Linked DNA regions of Homo sapiens: region 2 is linked to region 1. The links are contacts of gene promoters, found by promoter capture Hi-C in blood cells and fetal thymus (Javierre and others, 2016). All regions are on one chromosome and are shown on one strand. Each heading gives the region's core, a stretch centred on a gene start or on the middle of the fragment in contact. The rest is flanking DNA. Distances are from core to core; before and after follow the strand shown. Region 1 holds the start of TTLL11 (tubulin tyrosine ligase like 11). Region 2 overlaps LOC107987016 (a long non-coding RNA gene).

What was found. The method cuts DNA at HindIII sites, captures the fragments that hold promoters and counts their contacts. A CHiCAGO score of 5 or more calls a contact.
Region 2: a contact is called between a fragment that was not itself captured here and the fragment with the promoter of TTLL11 in region 1, in 1 of 17 cell types (endothelial precursors). The highest score is 7.2, in endothelial precursors.

The regions. Positions count from the first base shown.
Region 1 is chr9:122,091,035-122,096,052 of GRCh38, reverse strand. TTLL11 (tubulin tyrosine ligase like 11) reads left to right here and starts at 2,745. Exons shown (of 9, transcript NM_001139442.2): 1 at 2,745-3,366. The coding sequence starts at 2,905. It overlaps LOC124902263 (a long non-coding RNA gene), which reads right to left and starts at 1,921. Exons shown (of 2, transcript XR_007061757.1): 1 at 1,881-1,921; 2 at 653-879. LOC124902262 (a long non-coding RNA gene) reads right to left here. Exons shown (of 3, transcript XR_007061755.1): 3 at 4,774-5,016. RefSeq lists enhancers at 2,565-2,754, 2,504-3,217 and a silencer at 3,105-3,154. The HindIII fragment of the contact is 9,416 bases long and covers 1-5,018 here.
Region 2 is chr9:121,547,158-121,552,175 of GRCh38, reverse strand. The region is part of intron 1 of LOC107987016 (a long non-coding RNA gene); the gene reads left to right. Among named protein-coding and RNA genes, the nearest start is that of GGTA1, 50 kb to the right of the region's middle. The HindIII fragment of the contact is 6,533 bases long and covers 1-5,018 here.

The sequences.
Region 1 (5,018 bases), core at 1,496-3,995:
AGCCTCTGCCTCCTGGGTTCATGAGTTTTGTGCCTCAGCCTCCCGAGTAGCTGGGATTACAGGCATATGCCATCATGCCCAGTTTTTATATATATATATATATATATATATATATATATATATATATATATATATGTTTTTTTTTTTTTTTTTTTTTTTTTTTTGAGACCGAGTCTCACTCTGTCGCCCAGGCTGGAGTGCAGTGGCGCGATCTCGGCAAATTTCAAGCATGGATGACTGAATGAAGGTAGTGCCACTTGCTGAGATCAAGGACACCAGGAGGAGGGACAGGATTTGGGGGGTAGGTTTGTGGAGAGAAATGGGGGGACAGTGAGGCCTTCTTACTGATACCACGGACAGCTCCAAGAATTTCCAGAGGACTTGCATCAGACTCTATGAGTGGTTCTTGCCTCCGCTGCCTTAGAATCAGCGGAGGAGCTAATTTAACATGCAGATTCCCAGGTCCACCCAGATGTGCTGCATCACAGTCTCTGGGGGTGGGGTCCAGGAGCCTGCATTTTAAATAAACACCCCGGGTTGTTCCCATGCAAGTGGCCAGACGACCATGCTTACAGAAACTCTGAAACAAAGTCATGAAGGGAACAGATGCGAGCGCCCTCTGCTGCTAAAAAGGAGGTTTGGATCTCTTAAGTTTATGACTTGGACATTTCAAGGCAGTTTATTCAGCAAGTGAAACCCCTGGACTAAAGCAAAGAAACAAGACACCTGGAGAGATGAGAGAGGAAGAGGGGCCACGTTCCTTGACAACTTCTGTGTTTCTTTCACCCTGTAGTGTCGAGCGAGGCAAAGTTCCCCTGTGTGCAGTCGTGGCCGCTGTGGTCAGTCTGGGGTGCTGTTACACCTTCTCAACCCCACTTCCTAAAAAAACAAATGCGGCTCCCTCAGGTGGGAGGGGAGAGCTTTCTCCTTGGTTTGGCTTTAAAATGATGGCAACTCCCAAAAATGGAAAGCAGGGGCTCAAACAGGTATTTGTATACCAATGTTAACCGACATTCTTCACAATAGCCAAAAGGTGGAAACAACCTAAGTCCATTGACAGATGAATGGATAAAAACGAGGTGGTGTATGCACACGACGAAATATTTTTCAGTCTTAAAAATGAGTGAAATTTGGACTCATGCTACAACATGGAGAAACCTTGAGGACATTATGCTACGTGAAATAAGCCAGACAAATACTGTATGATTCCACTGACATGAGGAACCAGGAATAGTCAAATTCATAGTCAGAAAGTAGAAATGGTGGTTCCCAGGGACTAGGAGAGAAGGGAATCCCGACTTATTGTTTCATAGACACAAAGTTTCAGTTTGGTAAGATAAAAGAGTTCCGGAGACCCATAGTGGTGCTGGTTGCACAACAATGTGAGTATACAGAATGCCACTGAATTGTACACTAAAAATGGTTAAAATGGCAAATTTTGTTATATTTTACCACAACAAAAAAAGTGATATAAGTAAAAGCAGTCAGGCTGGACGTGGTGGCTCACGCTTGTAATCTCAGCACTTTGGGAGGCTGAGGCGGGTGGATCATCTGAGGTCGGGAGTTAGAGACCAGCCTGGCCAAGATGGTGAAACCCCGTCTATACTAAAAATACAAAAAATTAGCCGGGCATGGTGGCCGGCTCCTGCAATCCCAGCTACTCACAAGGCTGAGGCAGGAGAATTGCTTGAAGCCGGGAGGCGGAGGCTGCAATGAGCCGAGATCACACCATTGCATCCCAGCCTGGGCGACAAGAGCGAAACTCTGTAACAACATCAACAACAACAACAAAACAAAAACAAAAACAAAAAAGAAAACAAGAGACGCGGTGGTTCTGCTTGTAATCCTAGTACTTTGGGAGGCCGAGGCTGGCAGATTACCTGAGGTCAGGAGTTTGAGAACAGCCTCGGCAACATGGCGAAACCACGTTTCTACGAGAAACACAAAACTTAGCCGGGAGTGGTGGTACATTCGTGTAGTCTCAGCTACTCGGGAGGTTGGGGTGGGAGGATCCCTTGAGCTCTGGAAGTTGAGGCTGCTGCAGTGAGCCGGGATCGCGCCACTGCACTCCAGCCTGGGCGACAGAGAGAGACCCTGTCTAAAAAAAAAAAAAAAAAAGAAAAAAAGAAAAGAAAAAGAAAAAATCGTTAATATCCTCAACTCGAGTGGGAATCTATAGGGGGCTTACCCATGCCCATGACTTCCCCATCCCATCGGGAGCTCCCTGAGAACAGGGAAAAGTGCCTCCCCTCTTATCTGGGGGCGCTCAAAGGACCAGCAGAGGGTTTCTTCAGCGGAACACTCTCTGCTCCCCTAGGGCCTGGGCTGCTCACATCCATCGCACTGAGGAGGGTCCCATCCATTGCACTGAGGAGGGTCCCATCCATTGCACTGAGGAGGGTCCCACTGGGGGGCTCCTCCTCCGTCCTATCGAGAGTTATCCCAGCGAGTGTTGGCGGGGACTGAGCCTCCTGCTTGAGGTAGTTGTTTTTACTCCCAGTCCCCAGGCTCACGAGCCCCACGCGCGCTCAATCTGCCCTCCCGCTTCTCCTCGCCACTCCGAGTTCTGCGCCCTCGAGATCCAGCGCATCCGCGGGGTGGGCGGGTCCTGGCGGCTCTTTGCCCTCTTCCAACATGGCCGCCGCTGCCTCTGTGACAGGCAGGGTCACGTGGGCAGCCTCGCCTATGAGGTCGCTGGGGCTCGGCCGGCGATTGTCCCTTCCCGGACCCCGTCTCGATGCGGTGACTGCCGCTGTCAACCCGAGCCTGAGCGATCATGGCAACGGGCTCGGGCGGGGAACGCGTGGCAGCGGCTGCAGCGGCGGCAGTTTGGTGGCGGACTGGGGCGGCGGAGCGGCGGCGGCGGCGGCGGTGGCACTGGCACTGGCCCCGGCCCTGAGCACCATGCGGCGGGGCAGCTCCGAGAGCGAGCTGGCGGCCCGGTGGGAGGCGGAGGCGGTGGCTGCGGCCAAAGCGGCGGCCAAAGCTGAGGCCGAGGCCACAGCGGAGACGGTGGCGGAACAGGTCCGCGTGGACGCGGGCGCGGCCGGGGAACCGGAGTGCAAGGCAGGGGAGGAGCAGCCCAAGGTCCTGGCCCCGGCCCCGGCGCAGCCCAGTGCGGCTGAGGAGGGGAACACCCAGGTCCTTCAGCGGCCGCCGCCCACGCTGCCCCCGTCCAAGCCGAAGCCGGTGCAGGGCCTCTGCCCGCACGGGAAGCCCCGGGACAAGGGCCGAAGCTGCAAGCGGAGCTCGGGCCACGGTTCCGGCGAGAACGGCTCCCAGCGGCCGGTCACCGTGGACAGCTCCAAGGCCAGGACCTCCCTGGATGCCCTGAAGATCAGCATCCGCCAGCTCAAGTGGAAGGAGGTGAGGCCCGGCCCGACCCGGCCGCGTGGGCACAGTGGGGTGGACAGGACGACCTCAGAGGTCTCGGCACGGCCCAGGTCAGGTCGGCGGGCGAGGGCTGAGCTCCTGCGGTGCACCACGCTCGGGCCTGCTTGTCAGCCGCAAAGTGCTCATCCTTCAAGGCCTACCCCCCAAAATCACTTCCTCCAAGAGGGCCCCCCAGACCCCTCCAGGTCAAGTTAGCCACTCACTCCTCTGCCTCCCTGCAGCTCTTTTTATGTCTCAGCCATCAGCATTTGCCTCTGCTTGTAGATATGTGTACGTCTGTCTCCTCCACCAGCTTGTAAGCCCCTGGGGCCCCGGACCCGCTCTCTCACTTCTTCATTGAAGTTATATTTGTTTAGCACTTGCTGTGTGACTCTTGGGCAGAGGAACACTTTTTATTTTGGAGGCAGACAGGCCTAGGGTCTCACTACACTTTGCTACTTAGCTGTGTGACCTTGAGTAAGTTGCTTCACCTCTTCAGCCTATTACCTTCTCTGTAAAGTGAGGCCAATTATACTTATCTCATCATCTTGTTAGCATTAGAAGACTCACTACTTAGTGTTTTATAGCACAAGTCTGCAATAAATGGTAACTTACGTTACCACCTTCTCCTTTCTCTCTTCTTCCACCATCATCACCATCACCACCACCAGCACCACCACTGTCCTCATGATCAGTGGTATAAAATCAGGCACTGTATTTTATATTCCAGGCTTGGCTTACGGCATGTGTCAGTAAGCAGTGAATGAAAGGGTGAATGAATACATGAGTTATCATCCCTGAGCCCATTTTAGACTGGCAGGGGATGGAATGTAGCACCAGTGACTCTAGAGGTGTCTGTTGCAATTGGCTACGTGGATAAAGCCATTTGACTTTATTTGCAGCATATAAGGTATTTAATGTGCTTTCAGGAGTGTCAGGAGTTTGATTAAGGATAGCTGAGTGTGGACACAGCCAGTGGTAACAGGGATCTGCTGCGGGTAACAGAGGACTCAGGTTCTTAGCCCTGTGCCTTGGCTATGGTAGATGCTCGGTAATGGTTTCATTAAGTTGGAACATACAGAGAGATGGCCACAGAAAGGACTGATGTGGTCAGAGGGTTGATGTCCCAATAGGAAAAAGTGCATTTGGTTTGGAGGGAAGTCAAGGATCAGGCAGAACCGACTTCCAGGTGGATAGGGTGTAGCCGTTGGGGAAGTTTGACTCCAAGTGTCTGGGCCCCCAGCCTTGGGGCTTGGGATTCAGAGGGGAACTTTCATGCTGGGGAAACTTGGGGAAAACAAAGGCAGGCTCTCAGTTCTAAAGTATCTGGGTTTCTAGGCAGGGCCCCAGGTCCAGGCCAGAGATATGAGGGCTAGAAAAGGTACAACTGGACAACTTGTCAGTGCCGTGGTCTTAATGAAGGGAGAATCCAGCAAATAAAACCAGGCTATGGAGTCAGGCTAGGCAGATTGGCCCAAGTGGGGCCTCCACTTAGCTTATCCCTGTGGGAGAGAGAGACATAAAGCAGGCCAGATCTCGTTTGCTCGGAGAGATGGGGCCAGATGGACTAATACATCCCAGCCCAGGTTCGTTCACTCATTCCGTAAATGTCCACTTTGGAGGTGCCAAGTTCTTTGCTGGGCCCT
Region 2 (5,018 bases), core at 872-3,371, 540 kb after region 1:
ACACACTCATCTCTTTCTGGTGCCGCTTGAGGTCAGCCTGTGTCCAGCCACCCTCTGGGTGCTGGGGAGGGGCCTGGCAACCACCAGTCATTGTGGTTTGTCTCTCCAGACAGCAGGAGTCCAAGGGAAGCCCAGTGGTTCCTTAGACAGGCTGTGGTAACTGTGCCTCGTCCCTGCCACCTCCACCTACCCAGAGGCCACCGAGTGTCTTTGCACACCCCTCAAGCACCCACCACCAGGAGAGGTATGGTCACGAACATTCGCTCATGGCACAGCAATGTATGGAGCACCTGCTGAGTGCTGCATGGTCCTGGCCCTGAGAGAGCAGTAATGACCCAGGAAGACAGACCCCTGCCCTCCTGAGGCCACCGTCCAATGAAAGAGGCAGGCAATAAACCCATCATTAGAATCAAGTGTGAAGCCTGGGCGTGGTGGCTCACGCCTGTAATCCCAACACTTTGGGAGGCCAAGGCAGGAGGATCAGTTGAGGTCAGGAGTTCGAGACCAGCCTGGCCAACATGGCAAAACCTCGTCTCTACTAAAAATACAAAAATTAACCGGTGTGCACCTGTAATCCCAGCTACTTGGGAGGCTGAGGCAGGAGAATCGCTTGAACCTGGGAGGCAGAGGTTGCAGTGAGCAGAGATCGTACCACTGCACTCCAGCTTAGGTGACACAGCGAGACTCCATGTGATGTTGAGAAAGGGAAGCCTGGGGGACCTTTGGGGGCTGGGCGGCAGGGGGGTGCTTCCGGGAGGAGGCAACATTTAAACTATAGGTCTGAAGGATGAGTCAGAGTTAGCCAAGAAGAAAAAGGAGTGAAAAGGTGTTTGAGTGAATGGGAATGGCATGTGGGAACCTCAGAGGTAAGAAAGTGCCTGACAGGTTTAAGGGAATGAAGGGATTAAGTGAGATGGAGCATTGGGTGTTGGCGGTGGTAAGGAACCTCAGGAGTCAGGCTTAGGGACTTGGACCTTCTCCTGAGGGCGATAGGGAGCCATTGCGTGTCTTAAGCAGGGAGTGGCTTGCTCAGATTTGCATGTGGGAGAATTCAGAGACAGATCAGAAACACTCAACCTCAGCCCAGAGGGGCCCAGGCAAGACCCCCCTCTCCCTCCTCTGTAGTTCCCTTGACGCGTGAGGTGGGTCAACACGGCTTGCACTCCCCCAAGGACCCGAACCTAAGGTCCTCTGGAGGCAGGCCCCAAGCCTGTCCTAACAAGTGCCGTGAGAGCCCTCCAGGCCTGCTCTGGGAATCCAGTCTTGTCGCCAGGAGACACGAGCCCATTTGACTCCGGTGGGGGGAGGTGGGCTGGGCGGCACCACCGCGTGAATGCTCCGGAGCTACCCACGGAGGCGACTGACTGGCTGCCAGCGTGCGCTCCGGATGCCACCTGGTAAGGCTGTCGGCGGGAGGCCAAAGAAATCAATCAGGTCCCGAAGACACGCCGCCCCCTCCCTGCCACAACAGTCCCCTGCCCTCGGAGCCTGGAGAGGCTGGGCTGTCCCCGCAGCGCCACCGTGTGGGCGAGGTGGTCACGACGGCAGGTGGTCGGGGCGCTCAGCTGGAGGTGCTGGTGCTGGGGAGAGCGGAGGACACCGCGGGATCGGCAGGCGTTGGGGACCCCACGGCAGCCATCGATCCTATTCTCATCACATAGTTTCAAATTAATTTTTTCAAAACGGAAACATATTTGCGGCCTGTTTGTGACTTGTAATTATTAAGTAATAATATACTTCCTGAAAACAACATGCAAACTCCATGGACTATAGAAAAAGGCAGGCATGGGCAGCTTCCCTGCAGAATTCCATCCCACCACAACCTCTGATTGCATTTTGGCAAACAGGCTTCAGATTATTTTTCTGGCTTCTTTTTTTTTTAAGTCAGGGTCTAGCTCTGTCGCCCAGGCTGGAGTGCAGCGGAGCGGTCATGGCTCACTGCAGCCTCCACTTGCCTGGGTCAACCGATCCGCCCACCTCAGTCTCTCAAGTAACTGGTACTACAGGCACGCACCACCATATGTAGGTAGTTTTTTCATTATTATTTTTGTAGAGACAGGGTCCCACTCTGTTGCCCAGGCTGGTCTCAAACTCCTGAGGTCAAGCAGTCCTCCTGCCTCAGCCTCCCAAAGTGCTGGGATTACAAGCATGAGCCACCATGCCCAGCCCAGATTTTCTTCAACAGAAAGAATATATGTATATGTATATATATATATATATATATATTCACACACACACAAATGAGGTCATATTGCATATGCCTAATGTTCTGCCACTTGCTTTGCTTTTTAAACATTTTTATCAACTGTGGAGTTCGGAGAAAAGAATATTTATTTAGATTGGGCTTGGTGGCTCACACCTGTAATCCCAGCACTTTGGGAGGCCGAGGTGGGCGGATCATGAGGTCAGGAGATCGAGACCATCCTGGCCAACATGGTGAAACCCCATCTCTACTAAAAATACAAAAATTAGCTGGGCATGGTGTCATGTGCCCATCATCCCAGCTACTCGGGAGGCTGAGGCAGGAGAATTGCTTGAATCAGGGAGTCGGAGGTTGCAGTGAGTGAGCTGAGATCGCCCCACTGCATTCCAGCCTGGCAACACAGCAAGACTCCATCTGGAAAAAAAAAATTTATTTAATATACGTGCAGTATATGAATCAGGTTGAAGTGGGACACTGTGTGCCCACCGTCCAATTTAAGAACATTTTAATTACCCTGAAGTTTCTTTTAAAAATATATTTTTCCCTCCTTTCTCACCTTATTATGGATTATATGGGTTTTTTTGTTTGTTTTGGTGGGTTTTTTTTTTTTTTTTTTGGACAAAGTCTTGCTCTATCACCCAGGCTACAGTGCAGTGGTGCGATCTCGCTCACTGCAACCTCCGTCTCCCAGGTTCAAGCGATTCTCGTGCCTCAGCCTCCTGAGTAGCTGGGATTACAGGCACCCATCATCACGCCTAGCTAGTTTTTGTGTTTTCAGTAGAGACGGAATTTCACTATGTTGGCCAGGCTGGTCTTGAACTTCTGACCTCAAGTGATCCGCCCACCTCGGCCTCCCAAAGTGCAGGGATTACAGGCGTGAGCCACCAAGCCCAGACTGATACAGTACTTTTAATTAATCCATGGCATTGCTTTATTAATTTGTTAGTACTCCTTTCTTTTAGTGGTTATCCTAAAGATTATAATGCGTATCCTTGACTTATTAAAGTCTGCTACAGACAAACTCTCACTGCTCGTAGGGAAATGCAGGAAGTTTAGACCACTTAAAACTCCATTTACCCCCTCCTGACTTGGATGCTATTGTCATCTGTTACCATCTGCTATTTGAATCCTTTATATATTTCAAACTCCACAAGACCTAATTATTATTGTTTTATACAGACAATATTTGTTTAGATTAACCAAATATTTTCTCTCTCCATTGGCCTTCATTTCCTCCCAAATCTCCAAGTTTCCATCTGGGATCCATTTTCTCCTGCCTGAAAATCACCCTTTGCTAATTCTTTGATGGGGACGTGCTGGTGATAAATTCTTTCCATTTTTATTTGTATGAAATGTCTCAGTTTCACTTGAATTTAAAAAAAAATTTTCTTTTTCTTTTTATAAAATCAGATCTTCTAGAAGAGGCCACCTTTGTTTTTGAAGAGTATTTTTTGCTGGGTACGTTGGTGTAGGCTGGCAAGAGAAGGCAAGAAAAGAGAGAAAAATAACCGTGTAAGTGGGACAAATAGAAAACAAACAGTAAGACCAGTGGCCTAGACCAGGCACAGTGGCTTACACTTGTAATTTCAGCAATTTGGGAGGCCGAGGCAGGTGGATCACCTGAGGTCATGAGTTCAAGACCAGCGTGGCCAACATGGCGAAACCCTGTCTCTACTAAAAATACAAAAATTAGCCGGGCGTGGTGGCACAAGCCTGTAGTCCCAGCTACTTGGGAGGCTGAGGCAGAATTGCTTGAATCTGGGAGGCGGAGGTTGCAGTGAGCCTAGATCACGCCACTGCACTCCAGCTTGGGTGACAGAGCAAGACCCTATCTCAAACAAAAACAAAAACAAAAACAAAGGCGCAAATCAGATCTGCCTCTCAAAGTTGCTGGAGGGACAGCATGGGGCCAGGGGTAGGGAAAAGCAGGTAGCGACAGGGGCAGAGAGGGGTGGGGATGAGAGTGGGCCCGTATGTGACAGGACACTCCCTGGGGTCAGTTCTTCAGAGCTGGGGGCCCGGAGTTGAGGATGGGAGTGGAGAAGGGAGATGGGGCAGGGGTAGACTCTGGAGTTTGGCAGCCAGGGGAGCCTCAGCGGTGGAGCTGAAAGAGCCCTGGAAGCGGTCCTTGGAGAGTATTTGGGGAGGAAAGCAGGGGATTGCTAAGGAAACCGTCCTACAACAACCCACTCCAGTCGGAGCTCACTGAAGTTCCCGAATAAGAACTCTCTTCTCTTTCAGGGTGCAGCTTCCTACCCACATCTGCACCTCTGAGGGGGTGTATGTATGTGCTGGTGTGTTTGCGTGTTTGCTTTATGTGAGGGGTTTATGTGTTCTTGTGTGTCTGTGTGCAGCCCCTCTCACTGCATAACCACTTTACCCCCATGGCCTGGCTTTCTCTGCTCAGGGCCTCGTATATGCCCGTTCCTCTGCTGGAAAACCCTTTCCCTCCCCTCCCCTTTGCCTGGTGCTCTTCTGCCCATTCATCAAGAGGAGGTGGAGCCCACACCTGTAATCCCAACACTTTAGGAGGCCAAGGCAGGAGGATCCCTTGAGCTCAGGAGTTTGAGACCAGCCTGGGCAACATTGTGAGACTCTGTCTTTACAAAAAAAAAAAAAAAATTTAAATTAGCCGGGTGGTGGCACTCACCTGTAATCTCTGCTACTCAGGAGGCTGAGCTTGAGCCTGGGAGGTTGAGGATACAGCGAGCAGTGATTGCTGGGTGACAGAGCAAGATCTTTTCTCAAAAATAAAAAACAAAGGAGGGGGAGGGGGAGGGGTCTTCTCCCCCAAAAGCCTTCCCTGACCTCCTCA